2 separate regions of the Homo sapiens genome follow, and region 2 is linked to region 1. Evidence: promoter capture Hi-C in human tissues and cell types (Jung and others, 2019). All regions are on one chromosome and are shown on one strand. Each heading gives the region's core, a stretch centred on a gene start or on the middle of the fragment in contact. The rest is flanking DNA. Distances are from core to core; before and after follow the strand shown.

Evidence for each region. The method cuts DNA at HindIII sites, captures the fragments that hold promoters and counts their contacts. A contact is called where the count stands out against the background at its distance.
Region 2: a fragment that was not itself captured here is called in contact with the fragment with the promoter of KCNG3 in region 1 in 4 of the 25 tissues and cell types used here (H1 embryonic stem cells, lymphoblastoid cells, pancreas and 1 more).

The regions. Positions count from the first base shown.
Region 1 is chr2:42,489,414-42,495,939 of GRCh38, reverse strand. It overlaps KCNG3 (potassium voltage-gated channel modifier subfamily G member 3), which reads left to right and starts at 1,958. Exons shown (of 2, transcript NM_133329.6): 1 at 1,958-3,103. The coding sequence starts at 2,439. It also overlaps a transcript of MTA3 not described here. RefSeq lists enhancers at 637-931, 2,256-3,013, 3,014-3,771 and silencers at 1,686-1,765, 1,856-1,905, 2,086-2,175. The HindIII fragment of the contact is 23,685 bases long and covers 1-6,526 here.
Region 2 is chr2:42,440,553-42,447,697 of GRCh38, reverse strand. KCNG3 (potassium voltage-gated channel modifier subfamily G member 3) reads left to right here. Exons shown (of 2, transcript NM_133329.6): 2 at 3,119-5,681. The coding sequence ends at 3,764. Among named protein-coding and RNA genes, the nearest start is that of KCNG3, 50 kb to the left of the region's middle. The HindIII fragment of the contact is 7,955 bases long and covers 1-6,632 here.

The DNA.
Region 1 (6,526 bases), core at 709-3,208:
CCATCCTCACGTCCTACAACAAATCCATCTTCAAGACCTGCAAAGTTCTTGGTCTCAGCGTTTCTCAGAACAGACCCTTCTTCATCTTCACAGACACGGGGTTGGGGATCCCATTCCTGGGTTGCGAAATGACCTTCTCCTTAGAATGACCCAAAGTGCAAAGGCATCTTCCTGAAATAAAGCTTTCATCAAGCCATTTCTGCTATGGAAACCTCCAGGGATTCCATTGCTTATGGGATCCAATTTAAATGCTGCAGTTGAGATCCCCATTGTTTCAGTGGGCAAGTGCATTATACTTCTTCACAGACTTTAAACCTCCACATTCGAGATTTTGCTACTAGGAATGTTTTGCCCTTTCTCTGTGCCAACTCATGGCCATCAGCACCTCCAATTCTGTCTTGAAACTCACTTTCTTACAGATATTTTTCTTGTTTAATATCTACTTAGTAGATACTAAACAGCAAAGTAGCAGTATCTACCCAGTAGACACTAAATAGCAAAATAGATACTGAATAGCAAACTATTTAGTAGATACTAAAGTAGCAAATAACTCCTGTTTTTGAGCTTTTAATCACATTTAGTGCTCTTAAGATAAATTATCCAAGTCTGGGGATAAACAACTCACAGAGATTTTCATTCTTTAAGAAGCCACCGAGAGTGATTTTACTTAAAAGACAGCACTCACATTTTCAGTTGTCTGCCTTTTCACTAGGAATCCACTTAAGAACCAGCGCAAAAGGACTCCGTTTGGCGACCTCTAGCGGGCACCGGACAATCCTACAAAATTACGAAAAGTAGAGGGCAATGAAAAACTCTTCCCTTTAACCAGCCAGGTTACCCTGTGGTCAGATGACCGCATCTCACCCTACCCCACCCTTATTTTTTTCTTCTAGTATTTGTTTTGCATCTAACACGGTTCGCCTTACAACTCACCTGTCTCGCCTCCGGCGGGCTGGGCTGCCGGTGTCGGGTGTCAGGTGAATGAATTGCTGGTAGCAGTTTAAAATAATCCCTGCCAAGTGGAACCCGCTTTCTGGGCACGGACAAGAGCGCGGGGTAGATCGCTCTGCGGAGCCTTCACGGGGCTCTTCCCGCTCGGAGGGCCGGTGCTGCAGCCGGGTCAGGGGTGCGCGGGGGAAATCAAGATATTTTGAAAAGGAGGATGCAGACGAAGACCAAGAGAAAGGCTGTTTTTGCCGGTGACAAGGCGTTCCTCCCCAGACTTTCATCCCACTCTAAGGGCAGCATCTCGAGAGGGTCCAGGCGCGCTACACGTTAGGCGCCTTCTCAGGACTCGCGCCCCAGAACGTGGGGGCCGGGGCCGGGTCGGGGACCGCTTCCCTCCGCGGGCTGGCAGGCGGCACCGAGGCTGGGGGATGGGGCGTGTAGCCGCCCTCTGAGCACGCGGTACGTGGGTCGCCCCGCGCGGCGGTAGGAAGAGCAAAGTCGGCAGGAAAAGCCGTGGCTGGGATGCCTTCCCTGAGAAATCCTTAGGGGCGATGTCAGAACCCGAGCTGGGCTCCGGACAGTTTCTGGAAAAAGCTCTCCAAACGCCGTCTGTCCCCGCACCCGAGTCCACACTGGGCTTTGAACCAGGGCTGTTAAAAGGGGCCCTGGGGACTGCCCAATTCATCCCGATGGCCCAGGGCAGGACGCGGGAGCAGGCATCCCGGCGCTGGGCTCCCCGCTCCCCCGCCCTGCGGACCCCTCCCCGCCACTACGGGCCGGAGCGGAGGGGGAGGACGGCGTCACGAGGCGGGGAGCCCGAGGTCCAGGGCGGGGCGCCCGGGAATCCCAGCCCGAGCAAGCCGGGGAGGTGCGGGCGCGGGCGGGAAGCGGAGGGCGGCGCGGAGGGAGGTGAGCGGCGCGCGCGGAGCCGGCGGGCGAGGAGGAGGACTGCACAGAGGCCCCGCCCCCGCCGCCGCGAGCCGGCTCTTCGCCGCCTCCGAACCCGCTCACTTTGCCTCTCGCCTCTGGACGGCGGCGGGGCGGCCGCCGGATTCGCGGCCGCAGGGAGCGCCGGAGACGGGGAGCTATTCCGCCCCGGCGGCTCCATTCGGCGCCCGCAGCCCTCAGGGGGTCGGCCCCGCGGCTTGGGAGAGGGCACCGCGGCCTCGGTGTGCGCAGCCCTCGGGCGCGAGGGTCGGCGGCGCGGACACAGCCGCGTTCCCAGCCGGTGGGGCTCAGCGCTGGCGCCGGCGAGGACTCCCCGGCCACCCGCAGGTACCGCCGGGCGGAGGGCGCGCTACTAGCAGCGCCGGAGATACTCGAGCCCAGGGACCCCCGGGCCAGCGGAGGGCAGGAGCGGAGCCCCGAGGGAGCGCGGGCCCCGACGGCGCGCTCCCCCGTCAGCCACGGGCAGGCAGGCCCCGCGTGGCGGCTTGGGGTGGGGGGCTGCAGCGGGGCCCTCGGGCCGAAAGTCCCCCGGGCGGCCAGCCATGACCTTCGGGCGCAGCGGGGCGGCCTCGGTGGTGCTGAACGTGGGCGGCGCCCGGTATTCGCTGTCCCGGGAGCTGCTGAAGGACTTCCCGCTGCGCCGCGTGAGCCGGCTGCACGGCTGCCGCTCCGAGCGCGACGTGCTCGAGGTGTGCGACGACTACGACCGCGAGCGCAACGAGTACTTCTTCGACCGGCACTCGGAGGCCTTCGGCTTCATCCTGCTCTACGTGCGCGGCCACGGCAAGCTGCGCTTCGCGCCGCGGATGTGCGAGCTCTCCTTCTACAACGAGATGATCTACTGGGGCCTGGAGGGCGCGCACCTCGAGTACTGCTGCCAGCGCCGCCTCGACGACCGCATGTCCGACACCTACACCTTCTACTCGGCCGACGAGCCGGGCGTGCTGGGCCGCGACGAGGCGCGCCCCGGCGGGGCCGAGGCGGCTCCCTCCAGGCGCTGGCTGGAGCGCATGCGGCGGACCTTCGAGGAGCCCACGTCGTCGCTGGCCGCGCAGATCCTGGCTAGCGTGTCGGTGGTGTTCGTGATCGTGTCCATGGTGGTGCTGTGCGCCAGCACGTTGCCCGACTGGCGCAACGCAGCCGCCGACAACCGCAGCCTGGATGACCGGAGCAGGTACTCCGCCGGCCCTGGGAGGGAGCCCTCCGGGTAGGACGCACTGCTTCTCTACCCGTCCCGTCCGTCCTGTCGCGTCTGTCCGTCCCGTCCATACGTCCCGTCTCCGTCCTGTCCGCCTCCGGGCGACCGAGCCAGCGGGGTGCGCGCCCAGCGAGGCCCAGGCGCGGCCAACTACGGGACCGGTCGGTCCCCACTCCTACCCCGTTGTCCGGGGCACCAGCGGGGTCTGGCCCTTACACTAGACGCACCTCTTGAGGGCGAAATCCTCAGGCATGGGGAGGGGCGTGTAGAGATAGACAAATGTCCCCTCTTTGTAGTTTACTTTTGCGCAGAGAGCAACCTGCTAATTACATTTTTCTGAACTTTTATTGTTAGGGTTCAACAATTAAGCCTTGAACTAAGCGCAGTTTGAATTATTTGCCAATTTTTGGTAGTGTTTGGAAAGATGGATTCTTGTTATGGTGAAATGTGCACTCTCCACACATTCTATACACTCTGCCCCCGGCATACTATGTGCTGTAATGGAATCGTTATATTATAAAGCAGGTTAATTTATCGATAGACTCTAAATAATGGATGTCTGTGCCCTTTTCTTCCCCCTTTTCCTACAAAGTATGGAGTTAGCAAACCTCTTGTCCACCGTTTGGTAGCAAAGATTCACACTGCGACTTTCAGAGGGTCTATGATATGGGAAGGGAAAAAACCATTACCTTGAGAACAAAGAAAAATCTAAACTGTCCTAAATCCAGAAAACAGTATTTGGGTAAATTTTTTTTTCTACTTTACTAGGATGAATGGGAAAATATTGCAGTCTTTTCTTAGACTGTCTTACCTTGAAGTGGTGATAGCACTTTCCTGTTTTTAGTACAAGTGAGCATATTCAGTGGGAGGAATAAGCAGACTAAGGATGGACTTTCAAAGAAGACAGCCTTTTGGGGCACAAAACCCAAACTGCATATTATAGTTTATCTGTTTGACACTGTCTTAAGATCCTCCTTCCATTCATTTTTTAAATTTAAGGTTGTGCCCTGTCATGTTTTACTGATAGGCATGTACATGTTCGGAACGGCGGCCTTGCTATTGCAGTGGATTACTTCTACATAATATTCTTCCTGTAGGGAGTAAGGATTTTTATATAAATCTAAGAAGTAAATAAAATTGTCTAGTGCCACGGAGTCTATTATTTCTTCTTGGCTTGAAATCGAAGATACATGCTTTGAAAGGAAATTCATTAGGAAACTCATTTTGTTTAGTGAATTAGGTTCTAACAGTTTTGAATTTACAGATAAGAGTTACTTATTTGGTTCTCCAACAATACAATGAAATTAATTTATTTACCTAAATACATAAATGCCTTTTTTTTTTAAGGAGGGCTTTAGGAAAATGGACTTGGAATTTTGATTCTCCAGTAACTGTAGAATTCTAAGGTTAGTGAAGGTTTGAGCTACATTAGCAAAGGAAACAGGAGAATTGAATTATTATTAGTGCAGATAATGAGGGAGTTGACTGAACCAGTATATGAGCAAAACCAGTAAAATACCTCAAATATAATCTTAGGGGGAGGGAGGGTGTTTTGGGAGAGGGAAAGGGCCATATGGAGATCATTAATGTAAAGCATTTGTAAAGAAATGAGAGAAATGCATAGTAATTTTAGGGAGAGAAACACAAGAAACAAAAAAGGGAAGACAGAGATGGAAAAGAGGGAGACTGCAAAAGAAGTGAAGGGAGAAAAGTAATGCTTATTTGTGTATATGTATTTTATGTATGTGTATAATTATTCAAGTCAGAGCTGTTTCCTAGATACTTAGATATTTCAGGCAAAAGCATGTTTTTCTTAGCTTAATGGCCCAGTTTTAGCTTCACTGTCTGAGTGTAGGTATATGAAAACCAATATCTGCAATCCCAAACAGATAAACTGCAGGATGGCCGAATGAGGATGCTGCTCATTACAGAGGAAGCTCCCCTCTGCCCTTCAACAGAGAGGGCCCTTAACCTGTCACTTTAAGTATAGTCGTTAAAACCCTGCTTGCTTGTGGTTGCTGAAATTAGTCTTTCTAAAACATCATTCTCATTATTTGACCATATTTTGCATCTGCCAAATAAAGCCAAAACTTCTTTCTTGGCCTTCAAGGCTCTTTACAGTTTGATGACAACCTGCCGATCTTGACTTACTCCATCATAGTTTGCAAACATCTTTTGAATATCTGTTATGTTCAAGGCACTGCTGGTGTTCCAAATATTGTAACTTTCTGTTGTAAAGAAAAGTTGGTGTCAAGTTGGTGGTGTAGGAATCAGAGGCACAATTGATCTCTGAGAGTTCCGTTGTTCAGAGAAGGCCTTCAGGGTGGTGGAGGATGGAAACAAACCATGGTTGGAAGGTTGCAGAGGTTGTGCACTGCCCAAACTAGCAGGGAGTGTCATTTATTTTATTTTATTTTATTTTTTGCATTTTTAGTAGAGATGGGGTTTCTCCATGTTGGTCAGACTGGTCTCGAACTCCTGACCTCAGGTGATCCACCCGTGTCGGCCTTCCAAAGTGCTAGGACTACAGGCGTGAGCCACCGCGCCTGGCCAGGGAGTGTCATTTATATAAATTCTAGTTAATGCAACCTGTACAACCATATGTGCCCTGCCTGGGAACAAAATAAAAGAGATTTTTTAAGATAAAAGGAACATCGTGGGCAAGAAACTTGTATATGAAGTTTATGGAAGCGTGAGTCCAGTGATGGAGTGAGAGGTGGATAGAGAGCAGATGACAGAAGGCCTTGAATTCCAGGGAGAATAATTTTATTTTGCAGGCAGTGGCTAGCCATTAGCCAGTTTTGTGTTTAGGGTAAATGGGTTATGCATATAAAGTAGTACATGTGGTACATGTGTTCTGTGATTTGGAGAGAGGGAAGATTGTACACAGGAAGATGAGTTGGAGATCTTCCCAGAGGGAGGGGATGAGAGCTTGGATGGCTTTGTGGTGGTGGAGAAATGGAGGAGAAATGACAACTCTGGAAAATACCAGGAAGAGTCAAAATTAATCCAGGGCATTGGAAGGGCACAGGCATCAGGGACTGATGAAGTGGACTTTCCAGGAGTTAACAGTATCCTCTGCCACTTGCAGTCTTCATTTGTCCAGCCTGGCCTGCTTACTTCTTCCTGAGCCACTCAAATGTCCCTTACTGTGCAATGCCTAGCCTGCTGAAATTGGATTATTCATCAAGCCCAATTCAGATTCTATTCCTCTCTTGAAGCATTTACTGATCACCCTAGTGGATGTGATGTTTCCTCCTGAACTCCTTAAGGAATTGCTTATTTGTACTATTTATTTGGCATCTATGATATCCTTCTTAGCGTGATGGTTATATTTTCATATAAACATATCCTGGCTCCTAAGTTGGATTAGATAAAAAGTCCTAGAAGGCAGGTAAATTCTCTTATACTATTTGTTATTAAAACATCTTT
Region 2 (7,145 bases), core at 1,406-3,905, 49 kb after region 1:
AAAAAAAGAAAAAAAATTAACCAAGTGTGGTGGTACGTGCCTTAGTCCCAGCTACTTGGGAGCCTGAGGTGGGAGGATCGCTTGAGCCTGGGCATTTGAGGCTGCAGTGAGCTGTGATGGTGCCACTGCACTCCAGCATGGTTGACGGGAGTAAGACCCTGTTTCAAAAAAAAAAAAAGAATATTCATTGCATCAGTGTTAATGTTCATCTGGTGGACTGGTTAAATAAATCACAGTACATTCAGTGGAACACTGTGTCACCATGTTTAAGAAATGAGGGAGCTCTCTATTTACTGATTTGGAATGACCTCCAAGATATATTAACCAAATGAGGCAGGGCAATTAGTGTAACATGCTACTATTTGTGTAAAAGGAGATACATACATATATATGTGTGTATGTATGTATCTGTATGTATATATATATACATGTATGTACATATATATACACATGTAAGTAAAAATTTTTGTTTGTTTGTACATACATCAAATAGCTCTGGAAGGATGCATAAGAAAGTGATTATATTTGTTGACTCCAGGGAGGGGAATTGGGTGGCTGGAATAGTGTGAGAGGTGAGACTTTTCCCTTCCCCTTCCTCATCCCTTTTTTTTTTTGAGGCAGGTTTGCTGTCTGTCACACAGGTGAGAGTGCAGTGGTGTGATCATGGCTCACTGCAGCCTCAATCTCCTGGGCTCAAGCAATCCTCCTGCCTCATTTTTTGTAGAGAGGAGGCCTCACTATGTTTCCCAGGCTGGTCTTGAATTCCTGGGCTCAAGCTATACTCCCACCTTGGCCTCCCAAAGTGCTGGGATTACAAGTATAAGCCACCATGCCTGGCCTGAGACCTTTCTTTCTATATTCTTTTTTTAAAATCATGTGATTTAAGCCATGTGAATGTGAATACCTATTCAGAAAATAAAAGTTAATAAAGTTAATCTTTACAGCCCTGTAAAGCCCTACAATAGGGAAACATGGTTAATTGTATTTATTCATTTTTATGAGTAACATCAAGTACCACTTGTGTTCTGTGGAATGCACTTTGAGTAATTCTTTTCAAAATGTTGCCCCACCTACTCTCCTCCCACTTACTCCAGTTTCTTCTCTCTCCATTGTACTTCTGATGTTTGGGTTTAAGTTAGTGGTGAGAAAGAATTATGTGGAGAAAAACAAGTGATGGTATAATAATTATAAATTTTAATTTCGAATGTTAAAAATTTTGGGCTGGGCATGGTGGCTCATGCCTGTAATCCCAGCACTTTGGGAGGTCGAGGTGGGCGGATCACTTGAGGTCAGAAGTCTGAGACCAGCCTGGCCAACATGGTGAAACCCCGTCTCTACTCAAAATATAAAAAAATTAGCCAGGCGTGATCGCGCGCGCCTGTAGTCCCAGCTACTTGGGAGGGTGAGGCACGAGAATTGCTTGAACCCAGGCGGCAGAGGTTGCAGTGAGCCGAGATTGTGCCACTGCACTCCAGCCTGGGTGACAGAACGACACTCCATCTCAATTAAAAAAAAATAAAAAATGTTAATTAAATTTAAAATTACCTTCAAATTACAGCTCACAGGGCCAGAGGTGTTGAAATTTGATTTTCTCAGCTTTGGGGTTTATGGGCTGAGGGCTGGGGGCCTAGAGCTCCCAGGATGCAGGCTTCTTCAAGAATCCTACCCGTTGGCTGGGTGTGGTGGCTCATGGCTGTAATCCCGACACTTCGGGAGGCTGAGGTGGGCAGAACAACTGACGTAAGGAGTTCGAGACCAGCCTGGCCAAAATGGTGAAACTCCATCTCTACTAAAAATACAAAAATTAGTCACGCATGGTGGCAGACGCCTGTAGTCCCAGCTACTGGAGAGGCTGAGGCAGGAGAATTGCTTAAACCCGGGAGGCAGAGGTTGCAGTGAGCTGAGATCGTGCCACTGCACTCCAGCCTGGGCGATAGCGTGAAACTTCATCTCAAAAAAAAAAAGGAATCCTATCCCTTGACTGCAGTGTGCTGTATAAATGCGATTATTTTCAGTGCATGCAGTAATGCAGAAAGGGTGGTAAATATTGCTCTAGGTAAAATGTGGTCTTTTAAAAATATGTGCTGTGTAAAAATGATGATGGAATACAAAGTATTTGTGGTCTTTGGGAAAATCCTAGCGGCCATTTTGCTCCAATGTGGGAGTCCTCGGCCTCGTTTCTGCTGGGACCTTTTTAGGATAGTTGTGACCTGGTGAGTTTCTGGTGAGGGCACTCACCCAGTTCCCCATAAACTTGCTCGGTGCCAGTATCTCCCATACAAGCCTATTGGGAAGGAAGGACGATTCACGTTTTAGGAAATGATCTTGCATTGACTGTAAGTTACCAAGAAATAGCCCATCAAAAAACTTAGATAGGTCCACATTCTATAGGAATAATGCCCTTCCAATCCACCTCAGAACTCGTATCACAGCTGAGAACCACTGTCCTGCAAGAGTAAGTTAAATTTCATGTTGTGGCCAACTGAAGATAAGTTAATTTCAAACTACCAAATAAGAGAGATATTTTTTAAAAGTATTAGTGACAAGTAAAAAACAAAATTTAATAGTATTGTAGCATAGAAGTAAGAACTTTATCAAGTTCAATTTTTTTTTTTTTTTTTTTTAATTTTTGAGACAGGGTCTCTTTCTGTCATCCTGGCTGGAGTGCAGTGGCACAGTCATGGCTCACTCTGGCCTTGACCTTCCCAGGCTCAGGTGATCCTCCCACCTTAGCCTCCCAGGTAGGTGGTACTACAGGTGTGTGTCACCAAGCCCAGCTGATTTTTGTATTTTTTTTTTGTGGAGACGGGGTTTTGCTGTGGTGCCCAGGTTGGTCTCGAACTCCTGGGCTCAAGCGATTCACCCACCTCAGCCTTCCAAAGACCTGGGATTACATGCATGAGCCACTGCACCTGGTCTCAATTTTCATCTGAATTGATTTGTTGTTCTGTTGCGTGCATCCTGGTGGTCTGATGATGTTGCTAATGTTGTCTGTTCTTTATGTTTTCTGGAAAAGTAACTGAATTAGTATGTCAGTGTAGTACTATCTGAAGAAATCTAAGAGCTATTAAAATGCTTAAAAATAAAATGATCAATTCTTCTTTTGTTCTCTTGACAGGATAATTGAAGCTATCTGCATAGGTTGGTTCACTGCCGAGTGCATCGTGAGGTTCATTGTCTCCAAAAACAAGTGTGAGTTTGTCAAGAGACCCCTGAACATCATTGATTTACTGGCAATCACGCCGTATTACATCTCTGTGTTGATGACAGTGTTTACAGGCGAGAACTCTCAACTCCAGAGGGCTGGAGTCACCTTGAGGGTACTTAGAATGATGAGGATTTTTTGGGTGATTAAGCTTGCCCGTCACTTCATTGGTCTTCAGACACTCGGTTTGACTCTCAAACGTTGCTACCGAGAGATGGTTATGTTACTTGTCTTCATTTGTGTTGCCATGGCAATCTTTAGTGCACTTTCTCAGCTTCTTGAACATGGGCTGGACCTGGAAACATCCAACAAGGACTTTACCAGCATTCCTGCTGCCTGCTGGTGGGTGATTATCTCTATGACTACAGTTGGCTATGGAGATATGTATCCTATCACAGTGCCTGGAAGAATTCTTGGAGGAGTTTGTGTTGTCAGTGGAATTGTTCTATTGGCATTACCTATCACTTTTATCTACCATAGCTTTGTGCAGTGTTATCATGAGCTCAAGTTTAGATCTGCTAGGTATAGTAGGAGCCTCTCCACTGAATTCCTGAATTAATGCATTGCAAATCAATTCTTGCATACACTTCATAGAAAGACTTTGATGCTGCTTCATATTTATGTGTTTCTTGCTGGGTGAGCACTGCAGTGGCATTGTCATCATCTTGGTAGGGTAAAAATTATCCTTCCCAGCCGAAGGGATAAAACAGTTTACTTGTTATGGAGTAAATAGAATTGAGACTGCAAAGGAAGAATAATGACTCCTAGAGTAAACTTTAGGACCCGGTTTTATTTAGACTTGTTTTCCCGTTTCCTTGAATGATTACACATTTTTAAAAAATACATTATTTGAACATTTTAAAACAGAAAGGTACTATTTTCCAAATGTTTTTCCATCTTATGAATTCAGAAGAAGCTTGGAACTTATAGTGTTTTTTGTTTGAGAGTAACATTTTCATTTCTAAATGTTTTATAATTTCTCATATCAATGTCAGAAGTATCCTGGAAACATATGTCACATGCGGGAACTGTTTAACAAATACTTTAAAAATTTGGCCAAAATTTAAACTGTATAATGGAGCTAGATACAAGCAAGAATAGTATTTGAAAGACTTTTCCAGCATACTTCTCAATTCTTTGCTTTATTTTTGTGCCAATTATTCACCTTATCGTGCCGCTTCATGGAAGCTTGAGTATGTTCTCCCTTTTCCATTTTGGATTTATCTCTTTACTGTAATGACTCAAAAGGTATTTAAGAATTGACGAGAGCTTGTGTTGTTTAGCATCTTACTGGATAATATTTGAATTCATTGCTGTTCCTAGGTGATAACTGTCCTAATATTTAGATGTCCAAACAAGAATACTTCCAACATAAAAATTATAATAGGAATAATTTGAGATGACTCAATATTACAACCTCTTCTTCTCTTAACCTCCTCCCCCAAACACTAGAGGTTTAATAAGACTTATCAGATGAAAGGATATTTATATAGCCTTTTAGTAGCAAAGTCATACTTACGTGTTGTCACTGGATTATCATAAAAGGGAGAAATTAAATATTACTGTACTCTTAGTTGCTGTGTAGCTAAGTCAATTTTAAGCCAGTAAAAGCGATGGATACATAATGATTTGATCTGATCTTTAACTATTGTGAATCACAGCTACACCAAAACTCTTCTTGTAAGAATACTGACTAATATGCCATGTTAATCTGGCTAGATTATTAGGACTAGATAATGTAAAAGTGATGATTGTTTAGTAACTAAATTTTAGCAACAGAAATTAGAATTTTGCTTTTTCAACCAGTTACCATAAAGAAGTTAGTGTATATATAAACACAAATAATTAGTGACAGATTCATAAAAAATTGAATGTTGTACACAGTAATTTTGTCAGAGGTAGAGAAGACAGGGATTGGGAAGTGGTGGGTGATGGAGGACCTGGATATATTTATCAAATAAAGGGTTACCAGAAGTGTTCATTAAAGGAATTTTAGCCATCATCTAGTTCAAACCTCAACTATTACAGGTAGAAAATCAGGGCAGGAGAGAATATAATTGTGAAGGAGTCAGGGCTAACACCTGGATCTCCAGAAACCTAGCCCAGCAGGTTAATCTTCACACATCTCTGGGTTCTGAGAAAAGCCTGGAAAAATCACACTTCTTTGTCATTGTCATGCTGAGGTAATAATAGCAAAACTGTTTTCTTTCCCTTAATTTCCTTTCCTAAGCTTATGTAATAGTTTGGCCATTAAATATCTTGCCCTATTTTCCCTATTACTGCTAGTATGCTACTTCTTACATACCCAAAAGAAATTCAGTTATTTATTGTATATTTATTGTATTCTAATATAATTGAAATAAATGGCATGGATTTATTTTTTCTTAACTATTTGGATTAAAGCTTTGTGGTTCATGCAAACAATGTGCAGATGATAGCACCTCCATATTACTAATAAAAATATGATAACCATCAATTTTACTGGTACTGGGACCGCTTTATGTGAATATGTCCTATCTTCCCAAGTAAATTATAACTGTCTTGAGAGCTGGGATCCTCTCTCATGCATACACCTTTGTATCCCCGACAGTGTCTGTTACAGACTTGGGCACAAACAGTTGACTGATTTGAGGGGAGAAACTTCTGTGTGAAGAGACGAGGAGAAGCATATACCTATAGGTATATATATACACACACACCTATATATATATATTTTATACATACATATAGGTATATATATGTGTATATATTTTATATATAGGGATATGTGTGTGTGTATATATATATATAATGTACATGTGCAAATATACACACAGACTTCATGCTACCCTTAGGTAACAAGTGTGAAATCTCTTGTTGGTGATTCCAGACTTTCCATAGGACCGATTTTCATAAAGAAGCATGTTGGGTAAATACTAGTGGCAGTTAAGCTACCCATTTATAAGGAGACGATGAGACGTGATAGAGTAGTTCATTCATAAATGAAAAAATATGTATTAGGGTTTTGTCTTCATGGATGTTGTGTTTTTTTAGGAACAGCATTTTATTGTAACGTTCCCTGAGCGTTGCTACTTTTATCATTATTTATCTATTTATTTTTTTCTAGAGATAGAGTTTTGCTTGGTTGCCTAGGCTGGAGTGCAGTGGTGTGATCATAGCTCACTGCAGTTTTGAACTCCTGGGCTCAAGCAGTCCTCCCACCCCAGCCTCCCAAGTTGCTAGGACTATAGGTGTGCATCACCATGCTGGTTAATTTTTTAATTTTTATTTTTTTGTAGAGATAGGGGTCTCACTGTGTTGCCCAGGCTTGCCTCAAACTCCTGGCCTCAAGCAGTCCTCCCACCTCAGCCTCTCAAAGCTCTGGGATTATGGGCATGAGACACTGTGCCTGGCCTGTTGCTGCTTTTTTAAAAAACCATTAAGTATCACTTCTTTCTTAGCTATACTTACAGACATCTCTTATAACTCAGTCTTTTCATGGCAGAAATGTTTTCATTAATATCTGTATTGGTACCAGTAAGTCAGACATTATCCTAAATTAAAATACCCAAAGAGGAAAAAAGCCCTAATCTCCTAATCTTTAATCTGATTTTACCACACCTGAATTTACATGACTTGATCTAATATGTAACTTGTTTTGTATTCTCTAAAATGGGAGTTTTAGGATTACAAACACAAAATTAGGGAATATATTTGAAAGTGAACAAACTAACAATTCAAGGCTTTCATTACTGTATTGTCCTTGTTGCTAATTGAAACAGTTGCATTTGTTCTTGGGTTTGGTCATTACCTATAAGTACCCATTTGTAAGTTCATACTTTCTGAAAAGTTATTTCCACAATGGCTGTCAATAAGTCAAAATTATTTGTCTTTTTAAACCTTTGTCCAGATGTCCTGTGATCTGGAAGAGGTGGAGATGGGGTTAATTTGGATGTTGGTG